3 separate regions of the Homo sapiens genome follow, and regions 1 and 3 are each linked to region 2. The links are contacts of gene promoters, found by promoter capture Hi-C in blood cells and fetal thymus (Javierre and others, 2016). All regions are on one chromosome and are shown on one strand. The core of a region is centred on a gene start or on the middle of the fragment in contact, and the rest is flanking DNA. Distances in the headings are between cores, read along the strand shown. Region 1 holds the start of GLOD5 (glyoxalase domain containing 5). Region 2 holds the start of SYP-AS1 (SYP antisense RNA 1). Region 3 holds the start of ERAS (ES cell expressed Ras).

Region 1 (3,376 bases), core at 708-3,207, 440 kb before region 2:
GTACTGATGTGTTGTTCAAATCTTTTTTTTTTTTTTTTTTTTCGAGAGAAAGAGTCTCCTTCTGTCATCCAGGCTGGAGTACAGTGGCACGATCTCAGCCCACTGCAACCTCTGCCACCAATTCAAGTGATTCTTGTGCCTCAGCCTCCCGAGTAGCTGGGATTACAGCTGCGTGCCACCATGCCCGGCTAATTTTTGTATTTTTAGTAGAGATGGGGGTTTCACCATATTGGCCAGGCTGGTCTTGAACTCCTGATCTCAATTGATCCACCCGCCTTAGCCTCCCAAAGTGCTGGAATTACAGGTGTGAGCCACCACCCTCAGCCTGTTTTTCAAATCTTTTATACAAACCTGTATTCACATATTATTTGTGTAACTCTTTTTAAAGGAAAATCATATGCTTAAAAACAATATCTGGCCGGGCACGGTGGCTCACGCCTGTAATCCCAACACTTCAGGAGGCCAAAGCAGGCCAATTGTAGGCAACATAGCAAGACCTCATCCCTACTAAAAATACAAAAATTAGCCAGGCGTGGTGACACACACCTGTAGTCCCAGCTACCCAGGAGGCTGAGGCAGGAGGATCCCTTGAGCCCAGGAGTTTGAGGCTGCACTGAGCCATCATGGCGCCAGTGGGCTCCAGCATGGGTGACAAAGTGAGACACTGTCTCAAAAAAAAACAAAAACAAAACAATATCCACAACACAAAGTGTTTGTGTTGGGGGTAACTAGAAACAAAAATCTCAAACTCACATGCTCCAGGGGCCAGACAAGTAACCTGTAAGGGAGATGGGGGAGTTCTGCTCAGGGTAAAGTGAACAGCAACTGGGCTGATGAATGTTCTCTGACTCTCAGCAGCGGAAGGTGAGGGTGAGTGAAGGGTGAGTGGGGAGGAGGAGGAAGACTGCAAATCTCATCCCCCAAAACTCATCCCCCAAAATAATTCAGGAACATCACACCCTGGGGCTCAGAACTTTTTTTTTTTTAAACAGAGTCTCACTCTGTCACCCAGGCTGGAGTGCAATGGCGCGATCTCGGCTCACTGCAACCTCCGCCTCCCGGGTTCAAACTATTCTCCTGCCTCAGGCTCCTGAATAGCTGGGACTACAGGTGCACACCACCATGCCTGGGTAATTTTTGTATTTTTAGTAGAGATGGAGCTTTACCATGTTGGCCAGGCTGGTCTCGAACTCCCAGCCTCAAGTAATCCGTCCACCTTGGCCTCCCAAAGTGCTGGGATTACAGGCGTGAGCCACCGTGCTTGACCAAGGGGCTCAGAACTCTTAAGAGTTCAGGGATCTTGGCTTGGAAACAGACACCTAATGGGTCAGAGCAGTCATACTCTAACTCAGATAGCTCACAACTTCATACCCCTGACACACACTCTCAAACAGCTCACAGATCTCACACTTTGGAGACATACCCCTAAGTAGACCAGAGGCATCACACGCTAGAATAAAGATCCCCTTAATACTTGGTGGTTTTTCAGTATTATTATTATTGAGATGGAGTCTTGCTCTGTCACCCAGGCTGAAATGCAATGGCGCCATCTCGGCTCACTGCAACCTCCGCCTCCCGGATTCACGCGATTCTCCTGCCTCAGCCTCCCAAGTAGCTGGGATTACAGGCGCCCGCCACCATGCCTGGCTAATGTTTTGTATTTTTAGTAAAGATAGGGTTTTGCCATGTTGTCCAGGCTGGTCTCGAAATCCTGATCTCAGGTGATCCACGTGCCTTGTCCTCCCAAAGTGCTGGGATTACAGGCATGAACCACCGCACCCAGCCTTCAGTGTTAACAAGAAGTAATCCCTTACACACATCCACTTTAAGCTTTCAATTTTGAGGCCCTGAATTTAATGTTAAAGTCCTTCCATTTGCACTACCTACCTGTGTCACCTCCCACAGTCCTCAGCCTGTGCCCTCCCATTCCTGCCCCTTGATCTCCAGGCGCTGAGCCAGAGGATTGTCGGGAGGACCCTGGGCAAAGACGCCTACCCTGCCATGCTGCGCCATCTGCCCTCCAGGCTGCCAGTCAAGATGTGGGGCAGGACTTTGGAGAAACAGGTGAACAAGATGGCCCCTGGGGATCTGGGGCAAGGGTGTTGGCACTGAAACTGGTCTAGTAACCTGTTTCCCTTCTCTGCGGGCTCCCATTTCCTGTCCTCCTCTCTCCCTTTCTCTTTCAGAGACAAGCAGAGGGCAGCAGAGGCCCATGGAAAGGCCCGGCTCTAAGCCATGGAGGGCCCTGTGCTCAGGTGTGCAGGGCTGGGCCGGGGCTGAGGGCTGGCTCCTCCCCCAGTTTAGCCAGGGACAGGTGGAGAGATACAAAGGTGGCTCACGCAGGGTGCCCCCAAAGCTGTCATGATTAAGGCCATGTGGAGAGAGGCTAGGAAACACAGCGCTGACCTTGAGCTTTAGGAGAGGAATTCAGAGGCCCCTGGCAACCTGAAGGGGACCTTGAAGAGGACCCTGTAGGAAGACAGAACACTTCCCTGTAGAGGAGGCCAAAGGAGGAAGGACATGGTGTTCCGGGCACTCTGACTATAGGGATTTTATATGCTGTGGTGAGAAATAAAATGGATTATATTTTTGTAGAGTGTGTAAAACGGGGCTTGGCACACAGTAAGCCTTGTGTGATTACTATGTCTTTTTTTTTTTTTTTTTTTGAGACCGAGGTTTGCTCTTGTCGCCCAGGGTGGAGTGCAGTGGTGCAATCTCAGGTCACTGCAACCTCTGCCTCCCAGGTTCAAGCGATTCTCCTGCCTCAGCCTCCCGAGTAGGGGATTACAGGTGCACGTCACCATGCCCAGCTAATTTTTGTATTTTTAATAGAGACAGGATTTCACCATGTAGGCCAGGCTGGTCTCAAACTCCTGACCTCATGTAATCCACCCACCTTGGCCTCCCAAAGTGCTAGGATTACAGACGTGAGCCACTGCACCCAGTCCTTTGTGTGATGACTATGTCTTGATCATCATTTTATAAAGCAGGCTTTGTAACTTCACCTCCAAGAGTCTGCAGGATCCAGACCCTGCCTTGCCCTCCCACTTATCTCTCACTCACTCTTGGGTTCTGAGCTACGCTGGCCTTCCTGTTATTGAAGACAGCCATCCCTGCTCGTCCTTGAATTTGCAAGGATGGAGCTCCGAGTCTGCAAAGCAGGATCTGGGGAGTGAATCTAAGCTGGCAGGGAAGAATAGAATAATGGGAGGAATAGGTGGAGTTTATTTCTAACAGACTATCAAAATGATGCAGATGTGGCCAAAGCAGTGCTTAGAGGAAATCTATAGTTCTAAATGCACAGATCAGAAAAGTAGAAAAGTTGAAAATCAATGACCTGAGCTTCCCTATCAAGAAACTGGGAAAAGAATGGCAA
Region 2 (3,627 bases), core at 1,042-3,541:
AACTCATTGAATGCTAACCACGACCCTGTGAGGTAGATATTATTAGTATTCCTTTTTACAGATGAGGAAATTGAGACCCAGAGTGGTTATGTGATTTGGCCAAATAGTGGGGGAGTCTCAGAAACCTGTGCGGGGATTGTGTCTGTGGGTCTCTGTCATCCCACCCTGCAGGAGGTAAACATCATTGTGAGGGTAGTGCCCATGCCAGCCGTGCTCATTCTTGTGCACCTAGCACCCAGTGTATTGCCCGGCACACAGTGTGAGCTCAATAAATGTCAGAATTGTTTAATTGGGTTTAATTTTTCCCTATATCTAAGCAGCACCCCTCATTATTCTATTCTCTACCATAAAACCCTACATGAGGATCTCCTCGAGTTTCTCTCAGTCTGCTATTATCCTCTTTGTTAATTTATTTGTTATAATGTAGGCTCCATGAAGGTAGGGAGTTGGGTCTGGTTTTTTTTTTTTTGGAGATGGAGTTTCGCTCTTGTTGCCCAGGCTGGAGTGCAATGGCGCGATTTCGGCTCCCAGGTTCAAGTGATTCTCCTGCCTCAGCCTCCTGAGTAGCCGGGATTACAGGCATGCATGACCACGCCTGGCTAATTTTGTATTTTTAGTAGAGACGGGGTTTCTCCATGTTGGTCAGGCTGGTCTCGAACTCCTGACCTCAGGTGATCCGCCCACCTCGGCCTCTCAAAGTGCTGGGATTACAGGCGTGAGCCACTGTGCCTGGCGGGAGTTGGGTCTGTTTTAGTTACTATCATGCTTCCAGCACTTTGAGTAGTACCAGATATAAAATAAGTTCTCAAAAATGTGTATAGAATGAATGAATGGGGATTAAATAATAATATTGGCTAACATTAATTGGGTACCTACTGGGTTAAGGTATGTATATACACCTGTCTTACTTTTGTATCTTGTTTATTGCCTGTCCCTTACCCCTTCGCTGGAACAGAGCCAGAGGGCCACAGCCTATGTCTGCCTTGCTCACCACATAGTCCTAGAGTCCAGAGCAGTGCCAGGTACAAGGCAGGTGCTCAGTGATCCCAGTGGATGTAGCCTCGAGGTGGGAGCTGGGCAGGAGCTACTTGCGGGGGGAGGTATTGGCCGGTTCCACCCTGCCCCTTCCTCTCCCAGGTCTGTTGGTATCCCAGGGTGGGAGCACACCTGAAGGGGTACTCGAACTCGACCTCGATGCTGAGGTCACTCTCGGTCTTGTTGGCACAATCCACGCTCAGCTGGAGCTCCCCACTGTAGCTGCCGCATGTGGCAAAGGCGAAGATGGCGAAGACCTTGGGCAGCAGGGATGGGGATGGCCACAGTGAACCTGTGTGCATGTGGGAGGGAGGTGCCCTCCTCTGGACAGATCGGGGGCCCAGCACAGGCAGCAGCAGATGGAGCAGTCCCCACCCCCACCCCCTAATCAGGGCTCATCGGGACCAAGGACAAGCTGATTACAAGGGTATGGCTGTCTCTTCCTGTTTCTCTCTCTGTGTCTCTCTCTGTCTCTGCCTTTCCATGCTGACCTCCCTCTTCTCTGTTTGTCTCTGTTGTTCTCTGTGTATCTCACTGTGTCTCTGTTTCTCTCGGTATCTCTGTTTCTCTATGTGTCTTTGTCTTTCTCAGATGTCTCTTTGTCTCTCTGTGTCTCTGATCCTCTCTGCCTCTGCCTATCTGATCTGTCGATGTCTCTTTTTGTCTCTTTTTTCTCTGTCTGTGTAAGTGTATGCCTGTATGTCTGTGTCTTTCTGTTTCTTGGTCTGTTTGTCTCTGTCTCTCTGTCCTGTCTCTCACTCGGTCTCCGGATGGTTCTCTCTCTGTCTCCCTCTTGCCTCTGTGTGTTGGTTTCTCTTTTTTCTGAGTGTCTCTTTCTCTCTGTGTCTCTCTCTCCCTCACCCTGTTTTCCTGCCTCTCTCCCTGCGTCTGTTTCTCTTTGCATCTGTTTTCTGTGTCTCCTTTTTCTTTGTTTCTGTTTGTCTCTTCTCTCTTATGTCTGTATCTCTTCTCATCTCCATATTTCTTTTTTTTTTCTCAGTATTTCCATCTCTGTCTTTATCATTCCCTGTCCCTCATTCTCTCTGTCACCTTCACTGTCTCTGGGTTTCTCTGACTTTGCATCTCTCACCCAGCATCTGCTACAGGCTCCACCTCCCCCACCCCTCCCTCACTTCAAGAGAGGAGGTAGGACGTCACAGTCTCCCACTTCACAACGGGGGTACCCTCAGCCCTATGTGACGTCACAGCTCATCTGTTTTCTGGCTTCAGACCCCTGAAACCTCACCCTGGAGCCCAATTCCCCCATCCCCTACAACCCCCGCACTCATCCCTGGCTACTCGCCCCTACTCCACCCCTGCTCTTCTGGACCCCATGACCTCCCTCTCTCCCTGCACTCTGCCCCAACAGCCCGGACCACACTCACCCATTGCAGCACCTTCACAAAGCCGAGGGGCTCCTTGACCACCCGGAACTGACCCCCAGCCACCAGCTGAGGAGAGAAACAGTGGGGAAGGGGTGGGGTTGTTGGAGGTACAGGGAGGTGAGCGGCAAGGCTGCCCATCAATGACCCCAGGGGATGGAGCATGTGACCTCGGGGAGAGGGTGAGAAGGAGAAAGTGACACCTTGGGGATGGTGTGAGCCCCAGGGTCCAAGGACTGGTGGGAAGGTCTGAAGAGATGGTGAGTCAGATGGCAGAGGAAGTCGGGGGTGAGGGAGATGGGGATGAGGTCAGGACTAGTTAAGGAGGGGGAGCAGGTTTGAAACGTAAAGGCGAGTCGGATGGGGAAGGGGTTCGGGTAGAGAATGGGGATGGAGTGGGGTGCATTCGGGTGGGGGGGTTGTGATGGTGAAGGTGAGTCATAACGGGGCAGGAGTCGGTTTGGCTCAGGTGGGGGAAGGGTCTGCAGGGGTAAAGGTGTGTTAGACGGCGGTGGCGGTAGATATTTGAGGTGATGGGGATGGGGAAGGGTTGGGACTGATTGGGGGTGAGTTTCTGAGGTGGCAAAGACGAGAGACATGGCGGAGAGGGTCTGGACTGATTAAGGTGGGGGAGGGCTGGGACACGGCTTCAGTCGCTATGTGTTGGGGGTGAGGAGGCTGGGGGTTTTGGAAGGAGTAAAACCGGATTGTCCCCTAGGTGTGCTCTGGGGGAAGGGGTGGTCGCCTATGGGGGTACAGTCTCTGTTTGGGAGGGGCGGGTGCCAGCCCTCTCCCCCATCCCCGCCCCCACACCTTCTGTCGCTCTATTTCCTAGCTTATCCGCAGCACCCCCCATCTTCCTTCCACTCTCCCCTCCCCTTGTCCCTTGCCCTCACTCCAGCCCCCAGGCCCCTATTCCTCCCCTCGCGGTCGCCAGTAATAAACGGGGCTCCGGGGGCCCCCGCTGCGGCAGTGAGGACGGCCCTCGCTGCGGCAAAGAGCGCACTCCTTTTCTCCACCTCCCCCTTCCTCCCCTTCACCTGCCGCAGACCCCCATCCCCAGCGCCGGGGACCGGGTCTCCGCTGCCAGACCCTGGCCACCACCTCCCAGAGTCGGCTGGCCTGAGCGACCCGGCCTAGGCAGCCGGGCGGCGGCGGGCTCTGTCCACGGTGCTGGAGCGCGTACCTGATTCACCACGTCCATGTCCGC
Region 3 (3,559 bases), core at 2-2,501, 370 kb before region 2:
GCAGGAAGTATCCTTACCAGGCCTGTTTCCCCACTGTCTCATTGGCCTGACTGGGGATGGTGGGAGGTCCAGGTTTAACTTGAATGTGGTGGTCATGGTAGCTTCTTGGCAGAAGGGGTGCCTGCCATTGACCACAGGTGGGAAATTGGAGGACAGTCTGAGAGCTGAATTTCTCCCACGTGGTGAGAATTGCTTTGGCAGCTCAAGGGAGTTGGATCTGAGGTTTCCAGGACTTTTCTTCATGGCCACCTTATGATCCCAAGCTGACCACCACAGCCTTACTGAGTCAAGAAGAGGAGGGATGGGGAAGGGCCGGGGCTGCCCCGTTCTTGTTTTGTTTTGTTTTTTGAGATGGAGTCTTGCTCTTGTCACCCAGGCTGGAGTGCAGTGGCACGATCTCGGCTCATTGCAGCCTCTGCCTCCCAGGTTCAAGTGATTCTCCTTCCTCAACCTCCTGAGTAGCTGGGATTACAGGTGCCTACCACCACACCTGGCTAATTTTTGTATTTTTAGTAGAGACGGGGTTTTGCCATATTGGGCAGGCTGGTCTCAAACTCCTGACCTGGTGATCCGCTGGCCTTGGTCTCCCAAAGTGCTGGGATTATGGGTGTGAGCCACCACTCCCGGGCCAGGGGCTGCCCTGTTTTAAGAGCCCTCTGGATGCCCCACCTCTGCTGCCCTCTCATTGATCAGGACTGTGCATGTGGTTGCCATAGCTGCAAGGGAGCCTGGGAAATGTGTAGTTTGACAGGCAGCCGCCTCCAATCAGGGTCTTTCTTCCCTGACAGAATGACCCCTCCTCTGTCACTGTCTTTTCTCCAGAGCTACCAAAAAACCGAGTTGAGGCAGCACAGGCTCTGTGGCCTGAAAGAGCTTCCCACAAAACCGTTCCCAAAGTCAGGCCATCCTGGTCAAAATCTAACACCCAACTCTCCCACACACACACACCACCAACAGGAAAGCAAGGGAGAGGCGCCACAGGGGACACACGGGGAGGTTTGGCCGCCGTCCGTGCACCCCTAGAGGCCGCTGTGGCACCCACGTGCCTGTGCGCAAGCCGCCTGGGGGGGCACGACCCCTTGCTCCCCCGGGGCAATGGCACGGGCAGGGGCGGGGCAGTGGCAGGGGCAGGGGCGCGGCGCAGGGGGGTGGGCGGCCTGAGGAGCCGAGGGAGGGCGGCTGCGCATGTCCACTCCCCCAACCGCCGCCGGGGTGCCCCGGGGAGCAGCGTCGCCCCCCGCCAGGCCTGTCAGAGCGTCCCAGCGCGCCCGCCTCCCCACGGACACAGGTGAGCGAGGCGCCGGTGCCCCTGGCCCTGCCAGGCCTGGGGGTATCCCCGCGCCGGCTTTGGGGGATCGTCCCCCAAGCGCCAAGCCTTCTCCCGGGCGAGCGGCCCCTCACTCGGCCGGCCGGGAGGGGTGTCGGCGCTTGGCTGGAAGCGGGGCCGCCTCACCCGGAGTCGGGATGGGTCTTGACAGGATGCCCGGGCGACGCTGCTCACACCGAGCCCGAAGTGGAGTCCTGGTTTCGGGGACCCTTCCGCACTCCGAGCTTTGCACCTCACCCGGCCTCGTCCGGGAAAGCACGACCTGGCGAGGCCGCCCTAACCCCAGGTCCCGGCCCCTTAGCGCGCCAGCCTTGGTGAGCTGGGCGAAGCCCCCCAACCTGGTCCCAGCGGCTCTGAGCGCGCGGCCACGGGGACCCGCCGGGGGCTCCGCGCCACTTGAGAGGACCGAGCCCCCAATCTCCGGCGCCTCCCGCGGGCTGAGGCCCCGGGCCAGTGCCCTCGGCACGTGCCTCTGCGCCTCGGGCTCCTCCCGGGAGCGGAGCCTTGGGGACCAGGGCCGCGGCCTCCCTGCGCGTCGCGGGGACTGGGCGAGTGTGGCCCCGTCCCGCCAGGCACCTGGGGTGGAAGCTGCGCTCCGCCACTCGGCCAGGCCCCGGGCTTTTCCTTCCTCACCGTCGGCGCCCCCAGACTCCAGCCGCTCAGACCCCGACTTAAGAGGCAGCCTCGACCCCGCCTCTGCCTTCTGACCCATCCCTAAAGATGGCCGGGCACCCCTACAGGACCCCCAGAAGCCGACCTCTCCCTCCACGTGCGCCGCCGCCTCGCCCCTCCCCGCAGTCCTCCAGGTCTTCTTCCTGTCCCCAACCGTCGGGGACCCCCAAGCTCCGTCCTCCGCTTCCTGCTCTCTTTATCCCGCCCCCGCTCCTTCTGGGCCAACGCCGCCAGTGACTATTCCCAGGGATCCCTCAGAGCTGAGGACGCCGCGGCCGCATCCCCATTTGGGACCTTGCCCCGACTCCGACCTCCGGATCTCCAGCTCCACCAAACCTCGAAGCCACCATCCGCCCCCAAACTGCCGCTGCGCCAGGCTTTCGGAGGGGAGTCGTGGCAACAGCCATTAGGATGCACTAAGCAGGGCACTTCCTGAGCCCAAGGACACCGAGGGGCATTCACTGAGTGAATGGGGATGTGCTGCTAATAACTAACACTAATTGACCACCTGCCGTGTGCCCATCCTCTTCGAACATGCAACTTCCTTGTTCCTTATCTTGTTACTGTCTCTTTCTCTCTGCCAGAATCCAATCCTCACAAGGGCAGGGACTGGGGTCTGTTTTGTTAACTGCCATATCACAATGCCTGGCACGAAGGAAGATTCTTGAATTAATGAATGGAGATTAAATTATAATTTAAAAGCCTGGCATGAACTGAGCACCTTCTGCATGCTTATCACCCGCTACTGACATATAGTTCACTTTTTTTTTTTTTTTTTTTTTGAGACGGAGTTTTGCTCTTATCTCCCAGGCTGGAGTGCAAGTGGTGTGATCTCAGCTCACTGCAACCTCCGCCTCCCGGGTTCAAGCGATTCTTCTGCCTCAGCCTCCCGAGTAGCTGGGATTACAGGCGTCCACCACCACTCCTGGCTAATTTTTTTGTGTTTTTATTAGAGACAGGGTTTCGCAATGTTGGGCAGGCTGGTCTCGAACTCCTGACCTCAGGTGATCCACCCGACTCGGCCTCCAAAGTGCTGGGATTACAGGCGTGAGCCATTGTGCCCCGCCCCCTTTTTAACCTAGTTTGTTGTCTCTCACCCCGACCAGAATATAACCTTCATGAGGGCTACAGTTTGTTGTCTATTTATTGCCCAACTCCATGTCCTTGCCACACAGTAGGTTCCCAATAAATGTATGTTGAATAATTAATAAAGACTACATTCTAATGATAATGGCTAACAGACCACGTGATTTACATATTTATTTGGTTTATTATATTATCTGCCTCTGCCTTTTAGAACATAAACCTTCTGGGGGTGGGAATGTTGGGTCCCTACTGTCTGGCAGGCACTGTGCTGGGCTAGGGTTCAATGGTGACCAAAACCGGCAAAATCCTGCCCTCCCTCTGTCATGGGGAGGAACTGCTAATGGGCATGGGGATTCTTTTCTGGGTGAGGAAAATGTTCTAAAATTTACTTATGGTGATAGTTGCACAACTTCGTGAATATGCTAAAACCCGTTAAATTGGACACTAGCTGGCTGAACTTGATGGGATGTAAAT

What was found. The method cuts DNA at HindIII sites, captures the fragments that hold promoters and counts their contacts. A CHiCAGO score of 5 or more calls a contact.
Region 1: a contact is called between the fragment with the promoter of GLOD5 here and the fragment with the promoter of SYP-AS1 in region 2, in 2 of 17 cell types (fetal thymus and neutrophils). The highest score is 6.9, in fetal thymus.
Region 3: a contact is called between the fragment with the promoter of ERAS here and the fragment with the promoter of SYP-AS1 in region 2, in 2 of 17 cell types (neutrophils and activated CD4 T cells). The highest score is 5.5, in neutrophils.

Annotation. Positions count from the first base shown.
Region 1 is chrX:48,759,790-48,763,165 of GRCh38, forward strand. GLOD5 (glyoxalase domain containing 5) reads left to right here and starts at 1,958. Exons shown (of 4, transcript NM_001080489.3): 1 at 1,958-2,064. The coding sequence starts at 2,002. RefSeq lists a cis regulatory region at 1,710-2,452. The HindIII fragment of the contact is 2,551 bases long and covers 1,829-3,376 here.
Region 2 is chrX:49,196,548-49,200,174 of GRCh38, forward strand. It overlaps SYP-AS1 (SYP antisense RNA 1), which reads left to right and starts at 2,292. Exons shown (of 2, transcript NR_046649.1): 1 at 2,292-2,677. SYP (synaptophysin) reads right to left here. Exons shown (of 7, transcript NM_003179.3): 1 at 3,604-3,627; 2 at 2,421-2,486; 3 at 1,168-1,292. RefSeq lists silencers at 3,479-3,528, 3,599-3,627. The HindIII fragment of the contact is 12,908 bases long and covers 1-3,627 here.
Region 3 is chrX:48,825,262-48,828,820 of GRCh38, forward strand. It overlaps ERAS (ES cell expressed Ras), which reads left to right and starts at 1,252. Exons shown (of 2, transcript NM_181532.3): 1 at 1,252-1,288. RefSeq lists a silencer at 1,070-1,119. The HindIII fragment of the contact is 5,532 bases long and covers 1-3,559 here.